Regions from separate parts of the Homo sapiens genome. Here regions 1 and 3 are each linked to region 2. Evidence: promoter capture Hi-C in 16 types of primary human blood cells and fetal thymus (Javierre and others, 2016). All regions are on one chromosome and are shown on one strand. The core of a region is centred on a gene start or on the middle of the fragment in contact, and the rest is flanking DNA. Distances in the headings are between cores, read along the strand shown. Region 1 has its middle 44 kb from the start of RNASE3. Region 2 holds the start of EDDM3A (epididymal protein 3A). Region 3 overlaps LOC100507513 (a long non-coding RNA gene).

The links. The method cuts DNA at HindIII sites, captures the fragments that hold promoters and counts their contacts. A CHiCAGO score of 5 or more calls a contact.
Region 1: a contact is called between a fragment that was not itself captured here and the fragment with the promoter of EDDM3A in region 2, in 4 of 17 cell types (M0 macrophages, M1 macrophages, M2 macrophages and 1 more). The highest score is 5.9, in M0 macrophages.
Region 3: a fragment that was not itself captured here is called in contact with the fragment with the promoter of EDDM3A in region 2 in 13 of 17 cell types (M2 macrophages, naive B cells, M0 macrophages and 10 more); the score reaches 15.9 in M2 macrophages.

What each region holds. Positions count from the first base shown.
Region 1 is chr14:20,845,392-20,849,066 of GRCh38, forward strand. No RefSeq gene overlaps it. Among named protein-coding and RNA genes, the nearest start is that of RNASE3, 44 kb to the right of the region's middle. The HindIII fragment of the contact is 8,402 bases long and covers 1-3,675 here.
Region 2 is chr14:20,744,216-20,747,820 of GRCh38, forward strand. It overlaps EDDM3A (epididymal protein 3A), which reads left to right and starts at 1,672. Exons shown (of 2, transcript NM_006683.5): 1 at 1,672-1,777; 2 at 3,340-3,605. The coding sequence starts at 3,366. The region is part of intron 2 of LOC107984671 (a long non-coding RNA gene); the gene reads right to left. The HindIII fragment of the contact is 4,056 bases long and covers 1-3,605 here.
Region 3 is chr14:20,867,784-20,871,289 of GRCh38, forward strand. LOC100507513 (a long non-coding RNA gene) reads right to left here. Exons shown (of 4, transcript XR_110261.4): 4 at 2,452-2,673. Among named protein-coding and RNA genes, the nearest start is that of RNASE3, 22 kb to the right of the region's middle. The HindIII fragment of the contact is 5,154 bases long and covers 1-3,506 here.

The DNA.
Region 1 (3,675 bases), core at 348-2,847, 100 kb after region 2:
TATAAATGGTCCAGTTAAAACACAACACTGATGGAGGAAAATCTAACTCTATGATGTTTACAAGAAATACTTCAAAAATGTAAGAATTCAGAACTCTGGAGAATGAAAAGATAGAAATGATAAAAATTGCAGCATAGTCATGCTTTAGAATCCTTTAGGGCAATAAAATTGAACAAAATATATCCCTTGTAGCAACATAAATGGATTGAATAAACATAAGGTAGTTCAGTCACAAAAAATATATATACAATGAGATTCTATTTATATAGCATTCAAGAACAGGTGAAATTAAACTGTAATGGTTAGAGACGGATACATAAGTGATATAATTATAAAAAGAAGAAAGGAAATTGTTATCTCAAGCATAATTTTTTTTTTTTCTGGAGGGAAAGAAAGTGCCGTGGTCAGGAAAGAGCACATGGTTGAGAGCTTCAGAAATACTGCCATTGTTCTGTTTCTGACCTTGGCAGAAGTCAAAAGGGTGTCTGCCTCATAGATATTCTTTAAACTTTGCCTACATGTATGATTTTGGCACTCTGGTACGTGTGCGTGACTGTGTGTGTGTGTGTTATATAATGTACCTTATAATTTTTAAAAAATGCTTAAGAAGTAAAGATTTTATTAGATGATTAGATGTGAAAATCAGGAGGTCATGGATTCTTTGCTACAGTAGTTTCAGAGCGTCCTTTTTCCAGCTGAAGAGAATATTAGAGCTAAAGGAACAGAGTCAACAAGGAGCTTGGCAATGAAGAGAAGGAGCCAACTGGTAAGTAGTTTCGGAAGGCTGCGTAGAAGGTGACATGAGATTGTCCATATCCTAAGGAGTCAGTACAGAAGACACTGGAAATACAGGGCACAGATACAGCACAGTCTCAGGAACTGGGCAAAGATGGGATCCAGCTCACAGGCAAAGGTACAGGAGAATGTCCTACCTATAAGAATGTTGGAGGCCAGGCACAGTGGCTCACGCCTATAATCCCAGCATTTTGGGAAGCCAAGGTGGATGGATCGCCTGAGGTCAGGAGTTTGAGACCAGCCTGGCCAACACGGTGAAACCTCATCTCTACTAAAAATACAAAAAGTAGCCCGGTGTGGTGGCAGGCATCTGTAATCCCAGCTACTCAGGAGGCAAGGCAAGAGAATTGAGTGAACCCGGGAGGTGAAGGTTGCAGTGAGCTGAGATCATGCCCCCGCATTTGAGCCTGGGCGACAGAGTGAGACTCTGTCTCTTCAAAAAGAAAGAAAAAAAAAGAATGGTAGAAAGGAAGGGAAGTAGGTACCAAAATGGAAACGGACGCAGCCAAGAAACAAGGAAGTTGACCAAGAATATGAACAGAAGAGGAAGGTCCTTTCAGCAATGGAACCTACTTCTACAACTGGAACTTAAGTCACTATCCCCCTTTGCCTCAGACTTGTTCTGAAACAGGGTTCGGAGAATGTGTGCATCACCTGTGTTGTCTGGATCATGGGGAAAGATAACTGGTACGGAATGACCTGTGACCTGTCACTGAGAGGGCTCACTTCCTGTGCATTAAATCACAGCTACTGTATTCAGATTCATTACACATATTAAAATATGACATTCATCTCTCAGAATATTTCTTTTTTTTTTTTTTTTTTTTTGAGACGGAGTCTCGCTCTGTCGCCCAGGCTGGAGTGCAGTGGCGCGATCTGGGCTCACTGCAAGCTCCGCCTCCCAGGTTCACGCCATTCTCCTGCCTCAGCCTCCCCAGTAGCTGGGACTACAGGCGCCCGCCACCACACCCGGCTAATTTTTTTTTGTATTTTTAGTAGAGACGGGGTTTCACCGTGTTAGCCAGGATGGTCTCGATCTCCTGACCTCGTGATCCACCCGCCTCGGCCTCCCAAAGTGCTGGGATTACAGGCGTGAGCCACCGTGCCCGGCCAGAATATTTCTTAAGTAATTCAACGTATATCACAACTGTAATTTCTTGTTTTTCTTTTTGAGACGGAGTCTCGCTCTGTCGCCCAGGCTTCAGTCCAGTGGTGTGATCTCGGCTCACTGCAACCTCCACCTCCAGGCTTCAAGTAATTCTCCTGCCTCAGCCTCCCGAGTAGCTGGGGCTACAGGCATACGTTGCCACGCCCGGCTAATTTTTTTGTATTTTTAGTAGAGACAGGGTTTCACCGTGTCGCCCAAGCTGGTCTCAAACTCCTGAGCTCAGGCAATCCGCCCGCCTCGGCCTCCCAAAGTTCTGGGATTAAAGGCATGAGCCACCGTACCTGGCCCCAGCTCCGTGATCTGTAAAACAGACAAGCTGGATAACTCACAAAACAATAATAAAGAATAACTGAAATGTATATGTATATTGGGGGTGGATTTAAAGAGGGGTGTAGAGTCGGTTCACCTTTTTAATCTTTCCTGTAATACTGACTGATATTTTTCTGGATGAGTACAGATTTACAGACAAAAGTCCTGATTTAGTATTTTAAAGATAAGTGATTTTTGATCTTCTGTAATTTGTTTCTTTATCTGTAAATTAAAGCACCTTATTCAAAGGGTTATTGTGTGAACTAAATAAAATAACCCAGGTAAAGCATCTAGAACAGTTCAGCCAGCTCAGTGATCAGAGTTGCAGCCTTATTTGCCTGAATAATGAAATAATTATTGATTTAAGTTCCCAGCTATGAAACCATATGTCCCAGTTTGCCCAGGATCTGCTCTATGTATGCTGCTGTCCTGGCTTAATTACTAGTAGTATTCCTTCTCACTCTCAAAAGTATCACAGTTCAGACAGTAAATTAGATGGGCACCCTATTCAGAGCACATAGTAAGCTCTCCATAGATATCATTATATTGTTATTATTACCAGTTTAATATAGCTTCTGAAAAGGTCACAATTAACAGGTAAGTTTGGCTGGCACGGCGGCTCATGCCTGTAATCCCAGCACTTTGGGAGGCCAAGGCAAGTGGATCACCTGAGGTCAGGAGTTCGAGACCAGCCTAGCCAACATGGTGAAACCTTGTCTCTACTAAAAATATGACAATTAACCGGGTATAGTGGCATGCGCCTGTAATCCCAGCTACTCGGGAGGCTGAGGCAGAAGAATCGCTTGAACCTGGGAGGCAGAGGCTGCGATGAGCCGAGATTGAGTCACTGCACTCCAGCCTGGGTGACAGAGCAAAACTGTCTCAAAAAAGAAACAGTTAAGTTTACATTCTGAATTAGTAGGAGTGACAATGATTGAAGTTTTTGACTGGGCAGGAAAGATAGACTGACAGTTCCCTCATTCTATCTTTATATAGAACTGGAGAGCAGCACAGAAGGAGGGGGACATGTCAAGGAATACCAGGCGGGCAGAGCCTGCTTTAAGGCATCTTCCAAAGGTTATGAGTCACTGCAGACACACTGAGAGTCACACTGGGGGAAGGTGCAGCAGACAGGGAGAAGTTCAAAGTGGTGTTTCTGAGAGACTTGGGGCACTGTGTACAATTAATCATCTCTCCACATGGGTGACTGTGGGAGCCACAGCAGTGCCTGAGTCTTCCAGGGGAAACACTGAACATGGAAATTTGTGGAAAGGAAACGAAGGAGGTGGATGAAAGCTGGAGGAACAAGTGTTTAAACAATGCAGCTTTTCTTGCCCTGGAAGGTTCTTTGGGTACTAACCTTCTGTGTGGTAGACAGAGGGCGGCCGGGGAGAGGAAGGAAA
Region 2 (3,605 bases), core at 422-2,921:
GAGTAGAAGGATGCACAGAACCTGCTCTAAGACTATCTCCCGTCCATCCAGTCTATCAGCACATGATTTTCTATTACTCAAGGACTGCTTCACAGGAGTGGGGGTTTGAAGATAAGTTCTGGATATAAACTGAACCTTCTGTCATTCCAACAATAAGGTGGCCCAGTGAGAAAATCAACTAAGGTGGTTTGGCTAGGAGCAGCCTTTGGAAGTGTTGTTAGAAAAGATTTGCAAGAGTCTTACTTTATTCATAAATCGTAACTTTGACTAGTGTTGATGAACCAGTATTGGTCACATTTGCCAATTTGTGGGGAGTTGGCATGGAAAATATGGTGGAAAATTCCGGCTGTGATGTTAAAGGTAACCATTGAACACTTGCACAAACTCAGTTGAAGAAGTTGTGGTCTTGTCAGTTTGAGCTGAGTTCAGGACTGAATCTTGAGGTCCTGAAAAACAACTTAGCCAGCACCTTGTGACCTATACTTCACAGTCAGATGTTACGTATAGTAGCATTGTAGAAACTATGGCCAGGCTATGTGACATTTTAATAGTAAGCAGTACAGTGTCACCAAACAGCTAAAGGTTATAATTAAAAAACTGAGTAGAGAAATTTCAGATACTGGCTACCTAATCATTCATAGCTATTTGGCCACTGTGTTCACTAGATATTCTTTCACCTCTCAATGAAGGTCTCACAATTCACAACATTAAAAGTGATTTTCTGGCCTGACCAAGTGGCTCATGCCTGTAATCCCAGCACTTTTAGAGGCTGATGTGTTGAGGCTTAGCTAGGCTCAGGAGTTCAAGACCAACCTGGCCAACATGGTGAAACCCTGTCTCTACAAAAATTAATACAAAAAACTAGCCAGGCATGGTGTTGCATGCCTATAGTCCCAGCTACTCAAGAGGCTGAGGTGGGAGGATTGCTTGAGCCTGGCAGGTTGAGACTGCAGGGAGCAGTGTTTGTGCGACTGCACTCCAGCCTGGGCGACAGAGCAAGACCCTGTCAAAAAAAAAAAAAAGGCAAAAGACCAGGCACAGCGAGTCACACCTGTAATCCCAGCACTTTGGGAGGCTGAGGCAGGCAGATCATGAGGTCAGGAGATCGAGACCATCCTGGCTAACACGGTGAAACCCCGTCTCTACTAAAAATACAAAAAATTAGCTGGGCGTGGTGACAGGCGCCTATAGTCCCAGCTACTCAGGAGGTTGAGGCAAGAGAATGGGGTGAACCCGGGAGGCGGAGCTTGCAGTGAGCCGAGATCTCGCCACTGCACTCCAGCCTGGGCAACAGAGCGAGACTCCATCTCAAAAAAAAAAAAAAGGTGGCTTTCCTCAGTGAAGTTCCCATGTAACATAGCATAACCCTCCAGGGACTTCCCCAGAAGTTTGTTAGAATTGAGAGCAGAGCTAAGTCTCTGGTTGTCTCCTGATAGCACCAGATAACCCTTTTCTGGGGTCACCTAGGGTCTTGCAATCATTTTGTACCCAGGGCTCAGCCTTTGATGTTTGTAGCCTTTGCTCGAGGCTACTGTTTGAGTGAGCCCAAGTGTTCCAGATGAAACGATACAGGGACAAGTTCACATAATAAGGCTGTTCCCCATCACCACCTCGGCTACCAATCAGCTGGAGCCCTGCAGCTCCCCCTACTATTCCTTTCTCCACTGCTGTAGATTTCCAGGGCTCTGAGAAAAGGAGGAGGACGCAGACTCTGCTCTTCAGATCCACATGCTGATCCCCACTACAATCAGTGACCTGAACTCAGAGTCCAAGTAGGGTAAGAAGGGCTCTGCTGAGGTTGCTCGGGGGACAGCCAGGAACACTGGAAGGAGGCTGATTGAACTTTTAGATAGCAAACAATGGAGAAGGATCCAAATCATGGAAAACAAAGGTCTGAATTCTGGTTAGCCTCAGTCCCACTGATACAGGCTTTTCCCTGCCCCTCCCTTCCTTCACCGCCAGTCCTCCTAAGCACAGTGCATTAAAGCTGCTTGCATCCTACTCTTCTATCTTGTGTAGGCCTTTATCACCAGGACAGGGTTCCACAGATGAGGAACCCTGTGCCTGATGTGGGCATTTGACATCTTTAGAAGTGCTCTCACATGCTTGCATCTCATTAGACTCTTGCAGGTCTGTAGGGAGCTGTGATTAGGCCTATCTGAGGACACCGATACTCAGAGCTATGAATCAGGCTAGAGGTTCAGTAGGGCCAGGAATACTCCTCATGGCAAATGAGGACAGATAGCTGGTAAAGAGATAACTTTTTCAAACGACCATACATCCTATGCTGTGACCACAGTAGCTCTGCGGGGGACTGTTTTAGTTTTGGTGCCTGATTGATTACAGCAACAGTTCTAAACTGATGTCCTTTTATGATGGCATTGTCAATAAGCTCTAACAAATGAAGATCATTTGTAATAGCAGTAATTAGGGAAATGGCCTCTGAGAAGGGATGCCGATAGTTAATAATGATCACATGTTTCACCCAGACTTTGGGGAAAGTGTTATAAGGAAGTCAAGGTTGGAAAAACATCATTTTTCAGAGAAGTGCAATTGCAGCCTGGGCTGTGGTTTCCAGAATCAATGCCTTCTGCCTAGGAACCACCTCCCAAGTAGTTACTCATCTTCTACATTCCCTTAAAATGCAACAATCTTTTCCACTTTGCAGACAATACGCTTAAAATGTCATTTTTCTATTGGACACATGATCTCCTGAGAGCTTATTTGGTAAAAGAGAGCTCGATAGTGATTGGCTCCTCAAATTGGGTAGAAGACAGGGTAGACAGGAGATATTTGAAATTCTCAAAAGGTACTTTATCTATATTTTCCAAATTTGTGTTAGCTCTCACAGGCTAAAGCATATTTTTAGTTCTTAGAAACTGTATTCTTTTTTTTTTTTTTTTTTGAGACGGAGTTTTGCTTTTGTCACCCAGGCCGGAGTGCAGAGGTGTGATGTCGGCTCACCGCAACCTCCGCCTCCCAGGTTCAAGCGATTCTCCTGCCTCAGCCTCTCGAGTAGCTGGGTCTACAGCCACCATGTCCAGCTACTTTTTGTATTTTAGTAGAGATGGGGTTTCACCATGTTGGCCACGGTGTTTCTCGAACTCCTGACCTCAGGTGATACACCCACCTTGGCCTCCCAAACTGCTGGGATTACGGGTATAAGCCACTGTGCCCAGCCCAGAAACTGTATTCTTTAATGAGAATCATCATCTTCTAATATGGAACCAAATAGCAATATAGTGCCCAAGTACCTGCTTGGCAGGGAAAGGAATTTTAAGGTGGAGCTCAGCTCTCTGAGTATAGTCTGGTTAATGCTTTTCTTTCTCTTCCCTGTAGACACGCAGGTGGACGTGGTGACTGAGATGACATCCTCTCTAAAGATTTGGGGCATACTCTTGGCCCTGCTTTGCATCCTTTGCAGGCTGTGTGTATACAGTAACAACATTTACTGGAGAGAATTCATAAAACTTCATTACTTAAGTCCAAGTCGAGAATTCAAAGAGTACAAATGTGATGTCCTCATGAGAGAAAAAGAGGCTCTGAAAGGCAAGAGCTTTCATATGTTCATCTATAGCTTATGGTTCAAAATTCAGCGTGCATGC
Region 3 (3,506 bases), core at 660-3,159, 120 kb after region 2:
ATATCTCTAAAGGGGAATGCTAAGCTGAGTTTTCTGCAGACCACGACCACCAGCTTTTGAGGTAACTTTAGCCTCCTTATGCAGAAATGAGGAAGAAAATCTTGTAGGTGAGGATCAATGATGCACTAGCTGGGCATCAGTGGCAGCCTGACAGTAAGACACTGATTGTTCCTCTTAAGTTGGTGTATGTCTGTCACTATTACCCTACACATTAGCTTGCTCCCTGCTAGCTTATTGACAGAAACAAATGTAAATGCTGCATTAATCAAGTGTATATGTGTCATAAATATTTTCTCTTAGTATGGCCTATACTTTGAAATCCTGAACCTAAGGGTTTTGGGTTTAACCTTTGGTTATCACTCAAAATGAAACACCTATGTTTTCTTGTAGATCTTGTCCAGAATGGCCTGCTGAATCCTTGAAAGCCGTAAGAGAGACGTATAGCAACCTATTCTGAATCAACTTGTTCAATCTAGCAATTCTGTCACTCTAAGAGAATCTTCTCAGCCTCGTACTCCTTTCTTGGACAACCACTACTTTAAAAGCAGGATCATGTTCAATGGCATTCTGGCAATACAGATGTCCATTAAGTAGAAATGCACAATGTCTACTTGTTGAATATCTAATTGTTCTCCAAATTTATTAACAGGATCTTCTATCTTGATAGGAAAAAAAAATTCATATTTTGAAATCTATCTATCTATCTATATAGATAGATAGATATATTTTCTTTCTGAGAATATATATATTTTTTCTTTTTGAGATGGAGTTTTACTCTTGTTGCCCAGGCTGGAGTGCAATGGCACAGTCTCAGGTCACTGCAACATCCACCTCCTGGGTTCAAGCGATTCTCCTGCCTCAGCCTCCCGAGTAGCTGGGATTACAGGCACCTGCCACCATGCCTGGCTTATTTTTGTATTTTTAGTACAGACGGGGTTTCACCATGTTGGCCAGGCTGGTCTCAAACCCTTGACCTCAAATGATCCACCCGCCTCGGCCTCCCAAAGTGCTGGGATTAGAGGCGTGAGCCACTGCACCTGGCTATATATATATTTTTAGAACTCCTTCTTTCCACAGTGTAGAAAGTACACATTACAAAGCTCAGTCAAATGCCAGGAACTTAAACATCCACACATTAGCATAAATTGTTAATTAATTTCTCAAAAAAAGAAAAAAATGCATCTCACTTGAATTCCAGGGAATCAACCTAAAGTATACTGAGATTCCTAAACTGAACCTTAAAACACAAGACACAGAATCAAAAGTCAAAGAACAAAAGGAACATTCTTCAGCAGGAGATAGGGAGCTGGTTTTAGAAACAGGTGGAGATCACCGAGTCTCAGCATAAGCAAAAGCAACACAGAAACCTAGGCTTTTGAAAAATGTCTAAAATACAGCAAAAGAGAAGGCATTCGAATGTTTTTGTGTAGTAATAGCAGGCTACTAATACAGGAATACAGACTATATTAATCCATGACATTTCAGTGAAACAATAAAAACAACTCTTTGGACATCCAGAAACAAAGGATGTTTTATCTAGTTAACTTTTTTTTTTTTTGAGACAGGGTCTGGCTCTGTCTCCCAGGCTGGAGTGCAGCAGCCCAACCTCGGCTCACTGTGACCTCCACCTCCTAGGCTCAAGCGATCCTCCCACCTCACCCTCCTGAGTAGTCGGGACTACAGGCGTGTGCCACTACGCCCGGCTAATTTTTGTATTTTTTGTAGAGATGGGGTTTCACCATGTTGCCCAGACTGGTCCCAAATTCCTGGACTTAAGTGATCCACTCACCTCACCCTCTCAAAGTGCTGGGATTACAGGCATGAACCACTGCCCCTGGCCCCCTTTTTATTCATATGTGAAGACAATAGAAAGACATTCTTCCATCACTAATATTTACTTAATTAACATTTCTGAGTGCCTTTGATATGACAAGCACTATGCTAAGTGCCATATAGGGAGAGGTGAACAAAACAGACAGGTGCTTGTATCCTAGAAAACTTTGCCTCTGCACACCTTGCTTGTGATAATAATTATAGGGCATATGCCAAACACTGAGCTATAAATCTATGAAGGAAGGATGTTGCTTACTTATCACAAGTGATAACCAGTGATACCAGTATCTATGAGCCATAGAAAAAAAGATTGCCTATTTCCCTGACTAGCTCAGAGGGATACAGCTTAATTCAGAAGATAAAACCTTTTCTTTTTTTTTTCTTTGAGATGGAGTCTTGCTCTGTCGCCAGGCTGGAGTGCAGTGGCGCAGTCTCGGCTCACTGCAACCTCCACTTCCCGGGTTCAAGCAATTCTCCTGTCTCAGCCTCCCGAGTAGCTGGGACAACAGGTGCACGCCACCACGCCCAGCTAATTTTTATATTTTTAGTAGAGACAGGATTTCACCATGTTGGCCAGGTTGGTCTTGATCTCTTGACCTCGTGATCCGCCTGCCTCAGCCTCCCAAAGTGTTGGGATTACAGGCGTGAGCCACTGCACCAAGCCAAGAAAACTCTTTCTTTATGGCAGCATTAGGCACCCCCAATAAGAGCCCACTCACATCATCATGATAGACAGAAACACTGCAGGGGGAAAAATGATCTTGCCTTTGGGCACCAGGACATTGGGACCTCCCAAGTAGTCTGCATCAGTGGATCATAAGGACCAACCATTTATCAAATCTGGGAAAGACAAAAGGCAAGCATAAGATTAAAAAGTAATGCAGGTCTTCGCCAGATGGCTCTGCTGCTTAATAAGTAAAATCACAATCACAGAAGGTGATAACCAAGGATAATTAGGTAAACGACCACACTCCATTTAATCACAGTTCAGAAGATCTTCCCTAATTTCTGCTGAAGTCTCTTCAATAATTTCACCTACCTCTGGAAGAAACTAGAGGACTAATGGGAAGAGTCCATTGGTGTTTATGTGGGAAAAGGAAGGTGCAAGCCATTTCAGCTCAAGGAAAGAAAGGAAGGGAGGGAGGGAGGAAGAAAGAGAAAGAGAAATGAGGAAAGGAAGGAACGGAAAAGAGAGAAAAGAAGAAAGGAGGGTAGAAGAAAGAAAGGAGGGAGGGAGGAAAGAAGAGAAACTGACTTTCCAAAGACACAGCTGAAGCAGCAGCTAAGAGGTAACATTATGAAAGTATGGGGTATCATTCTTCAGGATGCAGTGTATTTATTAAATCAGAGGCCTGTAAAGGGTACTGTGTTCCCAATAGGAAGAATACACGGATCCAGGAACCGAGAAGTAGAAGCAGGAGTAGCTCCACTTACCATCTCTCTGATTGACCCACTCAGATATGTTGTGCTTTCATTTCTGTAACTCTAGGCTCTGCAGGGTCAAAGGTCCAGGTCCCCAAAGAAGATGCACCCTTGCCAACTTACACAGAAAGGTCTCATTGAACTGCAAGCTACAGCTTTTCCCAGGACACTTTGGATTTCTCGTGTCTAGGGACCAGCAGACGTGAAGAGGAGTTGCCATACTGTCAAGGCTAAGTAACCTTGATTAGCAG